Regions from separate parts of the Homo sapiens genome. Here regions 2, 3, 4 and 5 are each linked to region 1. Evidence: promoter capture Hi-C in 16 types of primary human blood cells and fetal thymus (Javierre and others, 2016). All regions are on one chromosome and are shown on one strand. The core of a region is centred on a gene start or on the middle of the fragment in contact, and the rest is flanking DNA. Distances in the headings are between cores, read along the strand shown.

What was found. Contacts are between HindIII fragments. The CHiCAGO score rates a contact against its expected background, and 5 or more counts as called.
Region 2: a contact is called between a fragment that was not itself captured here and the fragment with the promoter of EIF3A in region 1, in 2 of 17 cell types (activated CD4 T cells and monocytes). The highest score is 6.9, in activated CD4 T cells.
Region 3: a contact is called between a fragment that was not itself captured here and the fragment with the promoter of EIF3A in region 1, in 11 of 17 cell types (erythroblasts, activated CD4 T cells, total B cells and 8 more). The highest score is 10.6, in erythroblasts.
Region 4: a fragment that was not itself captured here is called in contact with the fragment with the promoter of EIF3A in region 1 in 1 of 17 cell types (M1 macrophages); the score reaches 5.0 in M1 macrophages.
Region 5: a contact is called between a fragment that was not itself captured here and the fragment with the promoter of EIF3A in region 1, in 2 of 17 cell types (monocytes and neutrophils). The highest score is 7.1, in monocytes.

Annotation. Positions count from the first base shown.
Region 1 is chr10:119,079,511-119,082,123 of GRCh38, reverse strand. EIF3A (eukaryotic translation initiation factor 3 subunit A) reads left to right here and starts at 1,307. Exons shown (of 22, transcript NM_003750.4): 1 at 1,307-1,496. The coding sequence starts at 1,448. RefSeq lists enhancers at 1,093-1,387, 815-1,577 and a silencer at 1,583-1,842. The HindIII fragment of the contact is 5,277 bases long and covers 1-2,613 here.
Region 2 is chr10:119,578,527-119,581,139 of GRCh38, reverse strand. It overlaps TIAL1 (TIA1 cytotoxic granule associated RNA binding protein like 1), which reads left to right. Exons shown (of 12, transcript NM_003252.4): 6 at 1,130-1,205; 7 at 2,306-2,414. Among named protein-coding and RNA genes, the nearest start is that of TIAL1, 17 kb to the left of the region's middle. The HindIII fragment of the contact is 5,652 bases long and covers 1-2,613 here.
Region 3 is chr10:119,520,599-119,523,211 of GRCh38, reverse strand. All of the region lies in intron 3 of RGS10 (regulator of G protein signaling 10), which reads left to right. Among named protein-coding and RNA genes, the nearest start is that of RGS10, 21 kb to the left of the region's middle. The HindIII fragment of the contact is 8,074 bases long and covers 1-2,613 here.
Region 4 is chr10:118,731,752-118,734,364 of GRCh38, reverse strand. All of the region lies in intron 1 of CACUL1 (CDK2 associated cullin domain 1), which reads left to right. Among named protein-coding and RNA genes, the nearest start is that of CACUL1, 22 kb to the left of the region's middle. The HindIII fragment of the contact is 1,310 bases long and covers 663-1,972 here.
Region 5 is chr10:119,396,233-119,398,845 of GRCh38, reverse strand. GRK5 (G protein-coupled receptor kinase 5) reads right to left here. Exons shown (of 16, transcript NM_005308.3): 4 at 2,074-2,151. Among named protein-coding and RNA genes, the nearest start is that of MIR4681, 20 kb to the right of the region's middle. The HindIII fragment of the contact is 9,117 bases long and covers 1-2,613 here.

The DNA of each region.
Region 1 (2,613 bases), core at 58-2,557:
AACTCCTGACCTCAGGTGATCCACCCGCCCCAGCCACCCAAAGTGCTGGGATTACAGGCGCGACCCACCATGCCCGGCCGATTTCCTCATTCATTAATTCACATATCTCGTCTATTAAATGTGTAATACATTGACAATAATCTATTTCACTGCTGCCTTCTAAATTTTCCTTCTGGGCTGGGCGCGGTGGCTCACGCCTGTAATCCCAGCACTTTGGGAGGCCGAGGAGGGCGGATCACGAGGTCAGGAGATCGAGACCACGGCGAAACCCCGTCTCTACTAAAAATACAAAACATTAGCTGGGCGCAGTGGCGGGCGCCTGTAGTCCCAGCTACTCGGGAGGCTGAGGCAGGAGAATGGCGTGAATCCAGAAGGCGGAGCTTGCAGTGAGCCGAGATCGTGCCACTGCACTCCAGCCTGGGCGACAAAGCGAGACTCCGTTTCAAAAAAAAAAAAAATTTTTTTCCTTCTGAGCTCACCTTTATTTCGTACCAAGGGCTTGAGAATTAGATTCGGTTCAAATGGTTTTCAAATTCTAGGTAAAGTACTTCGTCTGCGAACATTAAAATTGTTAAGCAACAATAAAAGGGCCTCTCAGATTGATTTTTTTCACTAACACTAATTTTTCTTAATTTGTTTGTGACGTGCGCTGTATGTAAAAAGTGACGACACTCCTTTCCGTGTGTTTTCAAACACCAAGCAAGTCTGCTGTGCTCCAGGGCGTTTCGCCCTTTGCCAGGTCGCTGTCCCCATTCGCCCCCTCTGAGAGCCTCCATTTCTCAAGGCAATCCCTGTGACACAAACTTTTTACTTTACCAAGATATAAAAGAACCTTGCTTGTTTATTTTAGGCGTCACTCTTCCCCATGATTGTCTCTCACGGTTGAGCGGCGCTGACCTGATGACACCTGCTCACTGCGTTTTCGTTAAACTCAGCATTTTCACGTAGCCAAGACAGGCGATTCCCAGGCTGGATGGGACCTTACTGTAACTGCACGACTCCGCACAAGTCGCTTTGAAAACCAATCTGCAGACGTTTGCTTGTTCTCCAGACAGAAACTCTGACCCCACACTCACCCTTCCCACCCTAATTCTCGCTCGAAGATTGAAGAGCCTGTGAACTGTCTCCCTAACGCTATCCAGGACAGGCCCAAGACGGGAACTGGACCTTGCGCGCCTAGGACTCCGGCGCCGCCACGTCTGTCGGCGTGCGTGACGCCAGCGCGCTTGCGCGCACGGAGACCCGCCCCCTACATCCGGGGCCTGGGCGGCAGCAGGGCCGCCGCGGGGAGGTCACGTGGCTCCTTCCTTTCCGTCTCTGGCCGGCTGGGCGCGGGCGACTGCTGGCGAGGCGCGTGGGACCTTACGCTGGTTCCCCTTCGTCTCCTCTCCCGGCCCGGGCCACTAGAGAGTTCGCTGACGCCGGGTGAGCTGAGCCTGCCGCCAAGATGCCGGCCTATTTTCAGAGGCCGGAAAATGCCCTCAAACGCGCCAACGGTGAGTAGCTGATCGGGGCGCGCCGGGCTGGGGCGGCCCGAGGCCTCCGAGGTCGAGAGCGCGGGCCTGCTTCCCACTGCTCCGCCGCCCGGCCCGCGCGGGGAGAGGAGACCGATGCGGCCTGCCCGCCGCTGTCCCAGCCGGTGGTTGGGCATGGGTTTCCTTCTCACTCTATCGACTGGGGTCTGGGAGGCGCGTAGCCCGGAACCGTCGCCCCAGGGGCCTTTCCTTCCCCCTGCCGCCTCCGGGTGCGTCGCGGGGACCGCAGCCCGGGAGACAGCCCCTACCCGGACTGGAGCTCCCTCCTTGCTGCCTGCGTCCTCTGGCTCTCCAGGTCCCTGGGGCTTTGGTCTGCTTAGGGCCCGCGTCCCCGGCCGCCATCTGGGAGTGCCGGGGAGTAAGAAACATGGCTCCCTCCCGGGGACAATGCACGCGAGAGCCTCGGCTCCACCTCCTGCCCGGGCCGGGAGCCCTACGGACCCACCCCCGGCCTTCCCGCAGCCACCCCCGCTCTCCAAGCCGCGCTCAGTGCTTTGCTGGGTCGGCGTCCACTTACCCTTTACCCAGCTGCTTTATATCCACTTAGGGGCCTCTGACCCATTTAACCTGATTCCTGTTGTTTTGTTTTGTTTTTGTTTTTTCATTTTTCCTGGCATTGATTAGAAGCAGTCCTAAAGCCTGTTTCGAATCACTGGAAGTTGGAATAGAGTTAATGTAAAGGGACTTCAGGTCGCCTCTTAAAGATAACGAAACAGGCCTAGAGAGAGGTTTCCCCAAGGTCACTCCGGGAGTTGTTGAGCCAAGAGACTTAAAACCAACGTCTCTTGACATCCAGATCAGTCCTTTTTTCTCTTTTTTTCTGCCACAGTGCTGCTGTCTGCGATTTCTATTTCTATATGTGTACTTCAGCCATTGGCGCTTGAGGGAAAAACTTGTGTGCCCCGATCTCTCCAAGGCATTTATTACATTGGCGTTCTGGGGATGCACATGTTCTTGGCTAGGCTCTGGGCTTAAGAAACTTTGTGTAGGGTTTTTTTTTTCCCCTCTAACCGGACAATTTTTCTAATCGTTAGGGCATGGATAGCTCTTATTTTCATCCTTCCTTCACCGAAATAGA
Region 2 (2,613 bases), core at 44-2,543, 500 kb before region 1:
TAAACATCTTAGTACTACTTTACAGGAAAGTGTTTCAACTAAGAACAACAATATTTTCTCTATACAATTTGTTGTTCTATAGATTTAATTTCTTTAAAAGATGTAATTCTTAACTTTCTGTTTTGATATTTGCTTTGCTTTTTAATCTAAATGTGGTAAGTAGTACTATTTTAAAAATCAATATAAAAATAATACAGGTTGCTGTTTTTCAATCTTTATTTATACCTGAGACCTGCAGTTTTTCTTAAGTCCAAGTCACAATTAAAAGTAATAGCATTCTGGTTATTTTGCAGAATTGCTCATAAGAATGGACAGGATCTTGAAGGCTAACTGCAAGGAACTGTGCACACTGGAACTCAGTTGTAGATTTTTTTTCTCATTTCTATTTATTCTTATTATACATTATTTATATATACATATTTTAGTATTTACATTTTAACATTCTATATTCAGTGGAGTTCTATATTTCCAATCATTTAACTTACTCACTAAAATTTCTGTGTAAATTTGTTGTTTTCGTACTGGTGTGCTTAGCATTGTTGTTAGTTTTTTATTCTCCTTTCTTAAATTTCTGAAAATGTCAATTTTTCAAAATTTACAGCTGCCCAAACTCCAAAATGATGGTAGAGAATTGACCAAGAAAAATAAAGAAATCTGTTAACAGGCCATGTATGCCTTTTTAATTCCTATTTTTTCCTCTTTTTCAATTTTTTAATATTTCATATATTTTGTATCACTAGGCAGAAGACATTTAACTATTTAGAGATTGCATGGTAAAGTAGTTAGTATTGTTACAGTAATTTATAGAATCAGTAAACCTTAGAGGACACTAGTAAATAGAATATTAGAAAGGGAAACTGTTGTTCCTATTAATCTTCAAATTTGAGCATTTAGTTTAGAAAGCACAGGCTATTTGATTAGGTTGCATGTTTATTACATGTTTTTGTCCTACTGCTTTTTTCTAACAGGTAAAGAAGCATTAGGGAGAGTTCAGGAATGGTTGTAGTTAATTAGGGCTAACTGGAATTTTATTTTAAAAATGCTCACAATACAGTGTGTGTGGTTCCTTTTAGTTTTTATTTTGAGGGTGGCTCTTACTTCCCTCATTTAGCTGTGCTTCTTTTCACAGGGATGCCCGGGTAGTTAAAGACATGGCAACTGGAAAATCCAAAGGCTATGGTTTTGTATCTTTTTATAACAAACTGGTACGTTCTTCCATCTCAATTTATATTTTTTAATACTAAATTTAGTCATTAGTTACTTAATGTATTGAATCTGAAACTTGAATATACTTGAATGTTAACTACAAACACAACTTTTATGTAATGTTATGTATGTTTTAATAATAGAGTATAATTTCATTCCTCTTTCATAAACTCGAAAATAAATAGCTAGAAAAAGAATGATTATACTATAAGGAAGATTATTAAAATTGTGTTTGTACATTGGTAAAGGTCAGATGGATTTAGAAGTAAAGCCCAAGTCTAGGACAGATGAGCTAATCTGAGAATTTAGAGGTTAGGTAAATTATATTCAGTTTTAACCATGAAAATCTCAGTTTTAACTCTACCTTTTAAATTATTATTCATACTCTTATATAACTGGGATGTGAATGACTACAACAAATTATGTAAATAAAAATTTAAGCAATTCATCTTGATTTTTGCATATATTCTTTGTAAAAGGGGTACCAAAGTAAGCATTTGCATTAACTGTAACATTAAATAATAAAGTGGGCTTTGATTTTAAAGCAGTTTCAATAACTTAAATCAATGTTTTGTTTTGTTTTGTTTTGTTTTTTTGAGATAGAGTCTCGCTCTGTTGCCCAGGCTGGAGTCCAGTGGTGCCATCTCAGCCCACTGCAACCTCCACCTCCCGGGTTCAAGCGATCGCGCTGCCTCAGCCTCCTGAGTAGCTGGGATTACAAGCATGTGCCACCACACCCAGCTCATTTTTATATTTTTGGTAGAGACATGGTTTCACTTGGGTTCGCCAGGCTAGTCTCAAACTTCTGATCTCAAGTGATCCTCCTGCCTTGGCCTCCCAAAGTGCTGGGATTACAGGTCATCTACATTTTATTGAAGTGGTAAGATAAAGGGCCAGAGTATTCTGTTTTTGCTTAGATTGAATCTCAAGTTCAAATCGTTTTCTAATTGGTAATAGTTCAGTTTCGTTTTGTTTAGGATATTTAGTAAATTCATCTACTGATTTGTATGGAACCAGCAGCGCCGATATTTTATTTCATCTTACAGAGTCTTATTTATCACTCTTTTCTTTGTGATTGTGCTTTCTTTTTTATCCATAGGATGCAGAAAATGCGATTGTGCATATGGGCGGTCAGTGGTTGGGTGGTCGTCAAATCCGAACCAATTGGGCCACTCGTAAACCACCTGCACCTAAAAGTACACAAGAAAGTAAGATATGTCCACTGTGTGTGTTAAAATTATATTCTTCACAAAATCATGTATCATGTATTCATCTAGTCTCAATTTCTAATTTATTTATGTAAGAGACAGGGTCTTGCTCTGTTGCCCAGGCTGGAGTGCGGTGGCATGATCTTAGCTCACTGTAGCCTGAAACTCCTGGGTATAAGTGATCCTTTCACCTCAGCCT
Region 3 (2,613 bases), core at 86-2,585, 440 kb before region 1:
CTGTTCCCATTCGAAGATGCAGGGATATGACTTGAGTGGTTAAGCGGCAGCTCGCCCGAGGCTGGGCACAGTGGCTCACGCCTGCAATTATAACACTTTGGGAGGTCAAGGTGGGTGGATCACTTGAGCCCAGGAGTTCAAGACCAGTCTGAGCAACATGGTGAGACCTTGTCTCTACAAAAAATACCAAAAAAAAAAAAAAAATTAGCTAGACATGATGGAGTGCGCCTGTAGTTGCCCAGGGAGGTCAAGGCTGCAGTGAGGTATGATTGCGCCACTGCACTCCAGCCTGGATGACAAAGTGACACCCTGTCTCAACAAAAAAAAAAAGAATTCAGAGCCACATTTCTGACTCCAGGCATTCCCTAGTGAGTCCCGCTGCCTAGGAAGTAAAACCAGGGAGTAAGCTCTAAATTACTACAAAAAGTGTGGAGGAACATAGGCACTGGGAGAAGTCGCCTAACTGAATGTCTTTGTTTTTTTTTTTTTTTTTGAGACGGAGTTTCGCTCTTCTCGCCCAGGCTAGAGTGCAGTGGCACGATCTCTGCTCACTGCAATCTCCGCCTCCCGGGTTCAAGTGATTCTTCTGCCTCAGCCTACTGAGTAGCTGGGATTACAGGCATGTGCCACCATGCCCAGCTAATTTTTGTATTTTTAGTAGAGATGGGTTTCACCATGTTGGCGAGGTTGGTCTCAAACTCCTGACCTCAGATGATCCACCCGCCTCGGCCTTTCAAAGTGCTGGGACTACAGACGTGAGCCACCGCGCCCGGCCAGTTCTTTTTAATCCTCTGTTGTGCACGTAACCTAACTGGATTTCACAGTCAAACTTATCACATCTGTTCCAGCAGGGAGACCATGGGAGGATTTTTCTCTCTCCATCAACTAAGGCTGTTGAGGAGTCGATACAAATCCCACTCTCGCCTCTGTTGTTTTAATAGGACCTGTGTTGGTTCATTCCTTGACGTGGATTATCCAGCATTCAACAACTTCACATATCCATGTCATTTACTTGTCCGTCTTCTGTGTGGTTTGTCTTCTGGAATCTGGGAGTGGGGGGCCTCTTCTTCCCCACTGTCTCCGAGGGTCTAGACCCATGCCTGACACATGGTGAACTTCCTTCCTCTTTGTAGGATGAAGGCATTCCATTTCCTGGATCCAAGTCCTCTTCTCTCCTGAGTCATTCCCTCATTTTGGGAACAGCACACGAGAATGACTTCTTCCCTCCAGAATGACTCATGAGAGAAGAGCCCAAAACACAGCTGGCAATAGCTTCCTGAGAAGGGGGGTCTGGCAGGTAGGTATGTAAAGACCTTGTTGAGTGGAAATGTTATTTTTTTCCCTACTCTCCTACTTCACTGATAATCTGACAGAGCATAGAATTCTGGGGTGAAACACACTCAGAAGTTTGAAGACATTATTCCTTAGTCTTCTACTTTTGTTGAGAATCAGTAATTTATATGTAAACTGTTCTGTTTTTTTTTTTTTTTCTTTTTTTCCCTCTCTGGGATAGTATAGGATCTATTTTCTTTTCTATTTTTCCCCTTTCCTCCTTTCCTTCCTTCCTTCCTTCCTTCCTTCCTTTCTTTCCTTCCTTCCTTTCTTTCTTTCCTTCCTTCCTTCCTTTCTTTCTTTTTTTTTTTAATGGGGTTTCGCTCTTGTTGCCCAGGCTGGAGTGCAATGGCATGATCTCGGCTCACTGCAACCTCTGTCTTCCAGGTTCAAGCGATTCTCCTACCTCAGCCTCCCAAGTAGCTGGGATTACAGGCACCCTCCAACACACCCAGCTAATTTTGTATTTTTAGTAGAGATGGGGTTTCGCCATGTTGGTCAGGCTGATCTCAAACTCCTGACCTCAGGTGATCCACCTGCCCTGGCCTCCCTAAGTGTTGGGATTACAGGTGTGAACCACCACGCCCAGCAATTTTCTTTTCTTTTCTTTTTGAGACAGGGTCTCACTCTGTCACCCAGGCTGGAATATAGTGAGGTCACGGCTCTTTGCAGCCTGGACCTCCTGGGTTTAAGCAGTCTCACCATGTTGCTTAGGCTGGTCCCAAAAGAAATCCTCTCGCCTCAGCCTCCCAAAGTGCTGGGATTACAGGTGTGAGCCACTCCACCTGGTCAGGATCTTTTCATCACTAGTATTCTAAAACTGTTCAGTCAGGGGCTTTGGAGGCAGAGGCGGAGTTCATTCATTGTGTGAATTCTTTGTGGAGCCATATAATCTGGAAATTTGTAGTTCTGGGAAATGGTCTTATGTTGTTATTGTTATCATCATTTTAGTAACTTTTTTTCCTTCCATTGTCTCTGGTCTCTTTTCCAATGATGACCTTTCACGCCCTGCATTGAGCCCTTAATTTCATGTTTTATTCTTCCTATTTTTTAATTTTTTTTTTTTTTTTGCTTTTGGAGATTTTGACTACATCTTCAGATCCTCCTATTGAGTTTTTTCTGCTTTTTTATTTTTCCAGACAAGGGCCCTCTAGTCTCTTCCTGGGGGGCCATAAGCCTGATATGTTCCTGAACTAAACATATTTCTAATTAACTGTGTCAGGAGAATTTTGCTGGCGCGGGGGGTCTATATTTGGAATTTCCCTGAATCCCTTTATTCGG
Region 4 (2,613 bases), core at 68-2,567, 350 kb after region 1:
GGAATTCTTTACCTCATTGGAAGTCTGTATATACTCTTTAGCCACGTATAATATACATTGAAAAGACTGGCACAGTACACTGGCACAGCCGCAATATACTGGTGGTGAAATTATGAGTGATTTTTATTTCCTCCTTTTGCTTATGTATTTTCTAATGCAGGCTTCATACTGAACTGTAGAAATCAAGAAATAAAAAGTTGAAAAGTATTGTCTAAATAGGCAGCCTTGCAGATCTCCTAAGATCCTGTCATGCTGCTCTGATCTTAGCATTCTCATTTTAAAGTAGTAAATCAGCTATCTTCTACACATAGCATGAATTTTGGCTACTCTTTTGTGTTTTGTTTTGTTTTTGAGACAGTCTTGCTTTGTTGTCCAGACTGGAGTACAGGGTTATGAACATGGCTCACTGCAACCTTGACCTTTGGGCTTGAAAGATCCTCCTGCCTCAGCCTCCCGAGTAGCTGAGACCACAGGTGTGCATCACCACGCTCGGCTAATTTTTTTTTTTAAGTTTTTGTAGAGGTAAGGTCTTACCATGTTTCCCAGTGTAGTCTTGAACTTCTGGGCTCAGGCGGTGCTCTCGCCTCGGTCTCCCAAAGTGCTGGGATTACAGGCATGAGCCAGTGCGCCTGGCCTACTTTTTCTTTTGGTGAGTGTAAGCTTTTCTATGGGCAAAGTTGAAAGTGATTACATATCTCTTAACAAGAGGATCTAGTTTTTAAGTTCAAGATTACACACACACTCTGAGGCTATATGTGTCAGATGTTAAACTGAACAAATAGCTAGGAGTTTTTGTTTTTTAAACCAAGGATTGCGTTGAGATAAGCAAGTAAATAACAAATATCTTGAAGTTTCCTGGATTGTCATTTTAAGTGTTGACTGCAGATGGTTATGAAGAACCTTCCTGGGAAGAAAGTTATGTTAGCTAGCATATAAGGTTACTGAATTGGCTTTCTATTTACTATTCAGGTAACATAGATGTATATTGTATATAATAAATAATACGTGTGGAAATAGAAACTGCTTTTTTTTTTGTGTGTGGAAATAGGGTTTAAGATTCTCTACTGTGACACATGCCTTTTTCAATTTGGTTTTTAAGTCTCTTTTCAAAGATATTTAAAAGCATCAGCAGTCACTGTTTCTGTAGTGAGTCCCCATTCTGTACTTAGAACTGCAGGACTTTACATTTTGGTTTCTTTTTCCTCTTCTTCATATCTTTGACTTGGTGATTTGCTAAAGTGCGAAGCCTGTGCTTGAGAAGTAGGAGTGCTCCCAGCTGGAGCCATAGCATGTGGTTTATTGAACTAAGCATTTTAGGAGCCCAGAAGATAGGTATGTTAATTACTGGTGTTACTACTTGCAGTTTTCTTTTTGAGCGTGTTATCTAACCTTCAACTCTCAACTTTCGGTGTAGAGAGGTATTTCATGTGGTTTAGGTGGTACACTGATAAGGGATTCTGTAACTCAGAATCACACAGTGAGAATGTAATTTCTTTTTCAGTTTTCTTTGAATCCTAAGGATTACATAAATACAAAGGTCATATTCTAGAGCCTAGTGTGTAACACTTTTCAGTATCAAGAGCAAGACGGTGACCCTGGGAAGCAGCTCTAGGGGGATTGGGGAAGTGAGGCAGGGAAGGTAAGGAAGCCAGTAAGGTAAAGTCACCACTGTAGGCAGCTGGAGCTTAGTACCAGTGGGGAGCTCTGGGAGTCAGTATAGCACAGGGGCCTTAGAGTCGCCTCACCCAAAAGGAGAGGGAGCTACTGGTGGTAATGACACTGAATCCTCAGTAGTCATTGGTTGAAGGCTGCTTTGGGGTTAATTCTCCCACAATTTCTTACCTGCTCCTCCCGCAAGCAGAGCAAGCTCTGGCAGCTGGACAGAACATTGAGAGAAGTAGTCGTAGGGTGTGGATGGGGTAAATGGGTGGGGCACCAACAGTATCTGCTATGCCCGCTGGACAGCTAAGCTTTTCGTGCAGTCTTCCTCATTTTAGTAAACGACAACCCCATCCTTCGGTGCTGAAGCCAAAAACTTTGGAGCCACTCGACCTTTCTTTCACATCTCACATCTAATCTATCAGCAAATCTTGTTGACTCTGTTTTTAAAATATCTTCAAAATCTGATCTCTCCTTATTGTCCTCAGTGCCACCATCTGGCCCAACCCCATATCAGCTCACAGCCTCCAAACTTAGTTTACCCTCAGCACAGCTGCTGGAATGATCCATATAAAACCTAAGCCAGATCATGTCACTCCTCTGCTCAAAACCCTCCAGAGAGGCTTCCACCTTAGAGTAAAAGTCAAAGTCTTTACAATGGCCCATAAGGACCTACATGTCTGGCCTCTTCCTACTGTTATGTTTGCGCACGTGCATGTACGGTTCTTTTTGTCTTTAGCTTTACATTAGTCAAAACACTCCTTTATTCCCCATTCCATTCAGTGTGGGTTATGTGATTCATTTGTAATTCGGTTCATTTTTTGTGTTTTGCATTTCATCTTTACCACTACAGCCTTGTTGATTTTTTAAATTTACATAGTAATTTGATGTACAGTTCTTTTGGTCTTGACAAATGCGTGAAGTGGTGTATCCCCCACCATAGTTTCATGCAAA
Region 5 (2,613 bases), core at 84-2,583, 320 kb before region 1:
GACAGTGAAGCCGGGTGAGGAGACTACACCCAGGGGAAACACTCAGGGCTCTAGAATCACCCAGACTTGGGTTCAAATTCTAGCTCCGCCACTCACTAGTTGTGTGACTTGGGATGTGACAGCTCCCCTGAGCCTCTCCTTCCTTATCGGTAAGATGGAACAAATATAATCTGCATCCCACAGTGACAGCAAGGACTATAGACAGTGGTGCCTGACACAAGGAGTCCTCAATACATTCTAGTTGCCATTGTTTGGGGGGGACACATGTGACTGGGTAGCCCTATGGGGGCACAGATGAAGCGCTGGACTGGGCCAAGCTGAGCCACCGTGGGAAGATGCCTCTGCAGAGGGTAGCTGAAGACCCCTTCAGCAGAGTGGCCTCTCACGCTATTCAGCTCTGTGGCCTCAGTGGCCTGTCTGTAAATAGGGCAATCTCGTGGATACGCGAATCATCAGAGACATCTCGGAGGCATGTGGCACACCATAGGAGCCCAGCCAGGGAGCTGTCATCATTATGCCCTCTAGGGTGCATGCACCCCTTTAAGCTCAGGGCATGTGTTTATGCCCAGAGTGTCCACACTATCTTGAGTGGTGGCCAGGAGATCAAAAATGTATCTAGCCAGAGCCCCACCAATATGACATCGGCTGCGACTGGGTGAACAGGGACCCTGCTGAGAACGTCTCCTCGTCTGTGTCCACCTGAGAACCTCACAGACAGCAACAGGCCCATATCTGGAGCATAGCAAGGCCCCCAAGGTGGGGGCAGCTGTGCCTACCCAGGGCCACACCTTGTCCAGAGCAAACTAGCCCTATTCTATGCCTAGAAGTGTTTTATAAACATAAATTCTGTCATTTCTGAAAAGTGCAAAAGGGCTGGGGGTGTTTGCAGTTCACAGAAAGAGAAGTGCATGGATTATGATGGATGCAGCAGAGAAACAGCAAGGGGAGGCAACAAGGTGATGGCGACTGTGTGCGCATTAGGAATGCCGTCTAGCAGGCTGTCCAGAGTGGGGCGTGACAAAGGGCAACACTTCTGGGCGTGAGGCTGGTCTCACCCTGCAAGGGCAATGGCCACTACCAACTGCTGATGCTGGAGAAGAACGAGGGCTACATTTGGTGCAAGAGGTGCAGGAGGTTGAGGGGACTGATGGCCAAGACCTTCCACAGGCTGTGGTGACCTCAGTCCACTGGCAGCCTGGGATGGGCACCAGGAGGTATACTCTTCCGGGGAGCTGGTTGGCCCACAGGGTCCTGAGCAGGGTGAAGCCACCACTGGCCCCGGGGGATGGGACACACGCAAAGCTATTCCCACACAGGTCCCATCTCAGGCTCTCAACACCTCCGGGAGGTGAGTCTGACAGGAAGGCCACTTTTAAGAAAGGGAAACAGAGGCCCAGGGAGGGAATGTGGCTTGACCAAGTGGGCAGAACCACTGACACTAGAACACTAAATGGGTTGAGAACACACTTCTGTGAAGGTGAGTCAAGAGGAAGCAGATCTTGGAGAACCGAGGCTGCTGGACCCTGAGGACAATGGTACCCCGATGCTTCAACTATCCAGTGGGTGGCCCCGAGGTGGGGTCGGGGTGGCCCCTGACCCTTCAGAATACTCCAGAATATGTTTCAGAATTCTCTTCATTCTTTGATGTCGTTGGGCACCCCCTTTCCCTCCCAGTCAACCCCCAACACTTCCCCTCCACGCTGACCTCTCAGAACTGCCCTGCTAAGCCCTTCCTTCTGGGCACTTCTCCTGAACTTGGCCAGGCCTCCATCTGCCCTACCACAAATGGTTGGGTGTGGGCACACAGCAGCATGGTGACCCTTGAAGGGGCTGGGCCCCAAGAAGCAGGCATCCCGCCCCTACTCCAGTCCTGGCCTAGACCATCCCCATCTTGGCCCTGCCAGGCTTGGGCACTCTCTGGGGGAGGATGGGAACTGTGATCTCAGGAGGTCAACAACAGCCACCAGCCCAGCACTTAACAGCTCCCCATGTGGCCTGGCACAGACTTAGGGGCTCCTATTTTTGCATAAGGCCTCCTGTGCCACCTGCTGTGGGGTTTGGAAGACTCCTTACCTTTGGGGTGAGGTACTTGGTCATAATTTCCTTCCCTTTCTCTCCCAGTTTTTCATCTGGAGTAACTTCATATTCTGCCTAAAACAGAAGGAGAAAAAAGAACAATAACAGGTTTGCTCATGAGCTTCTTATAGTTACAGAACCTCACAGCCCCTGGAGGAAATCCCCTAGAGGCCACCTGACCAACCCCCTTCTCCTGCAGGTCAGGAAACCGGGGGGGAAGACCTGGCCACGGAGCCCCGATGTTTAGTCCAAACTACTTTGCCCTCTCTCACAGATGCTGGGTCTCAGGATGGCGGTGCTCCATGCAGACTGCACATCAGAATCAGCAGGGAGCCCTGAGCAAACACTGATGCTAGGCCCCACCCTAGACCCATGAAACCAGGCTTTCCAGTGGGCCATGAGGGCTGGCACCTGGGCAGCCGGGGTTGAAGACCACTGACTTAGATGAATCAAAGGAAACTACCAGAAAAATAACAGCCCACCAGACTGGAAGGCTGCCGAGAAGCTGCCTTAGGTCACTCAGACCTTGTAAGCTGT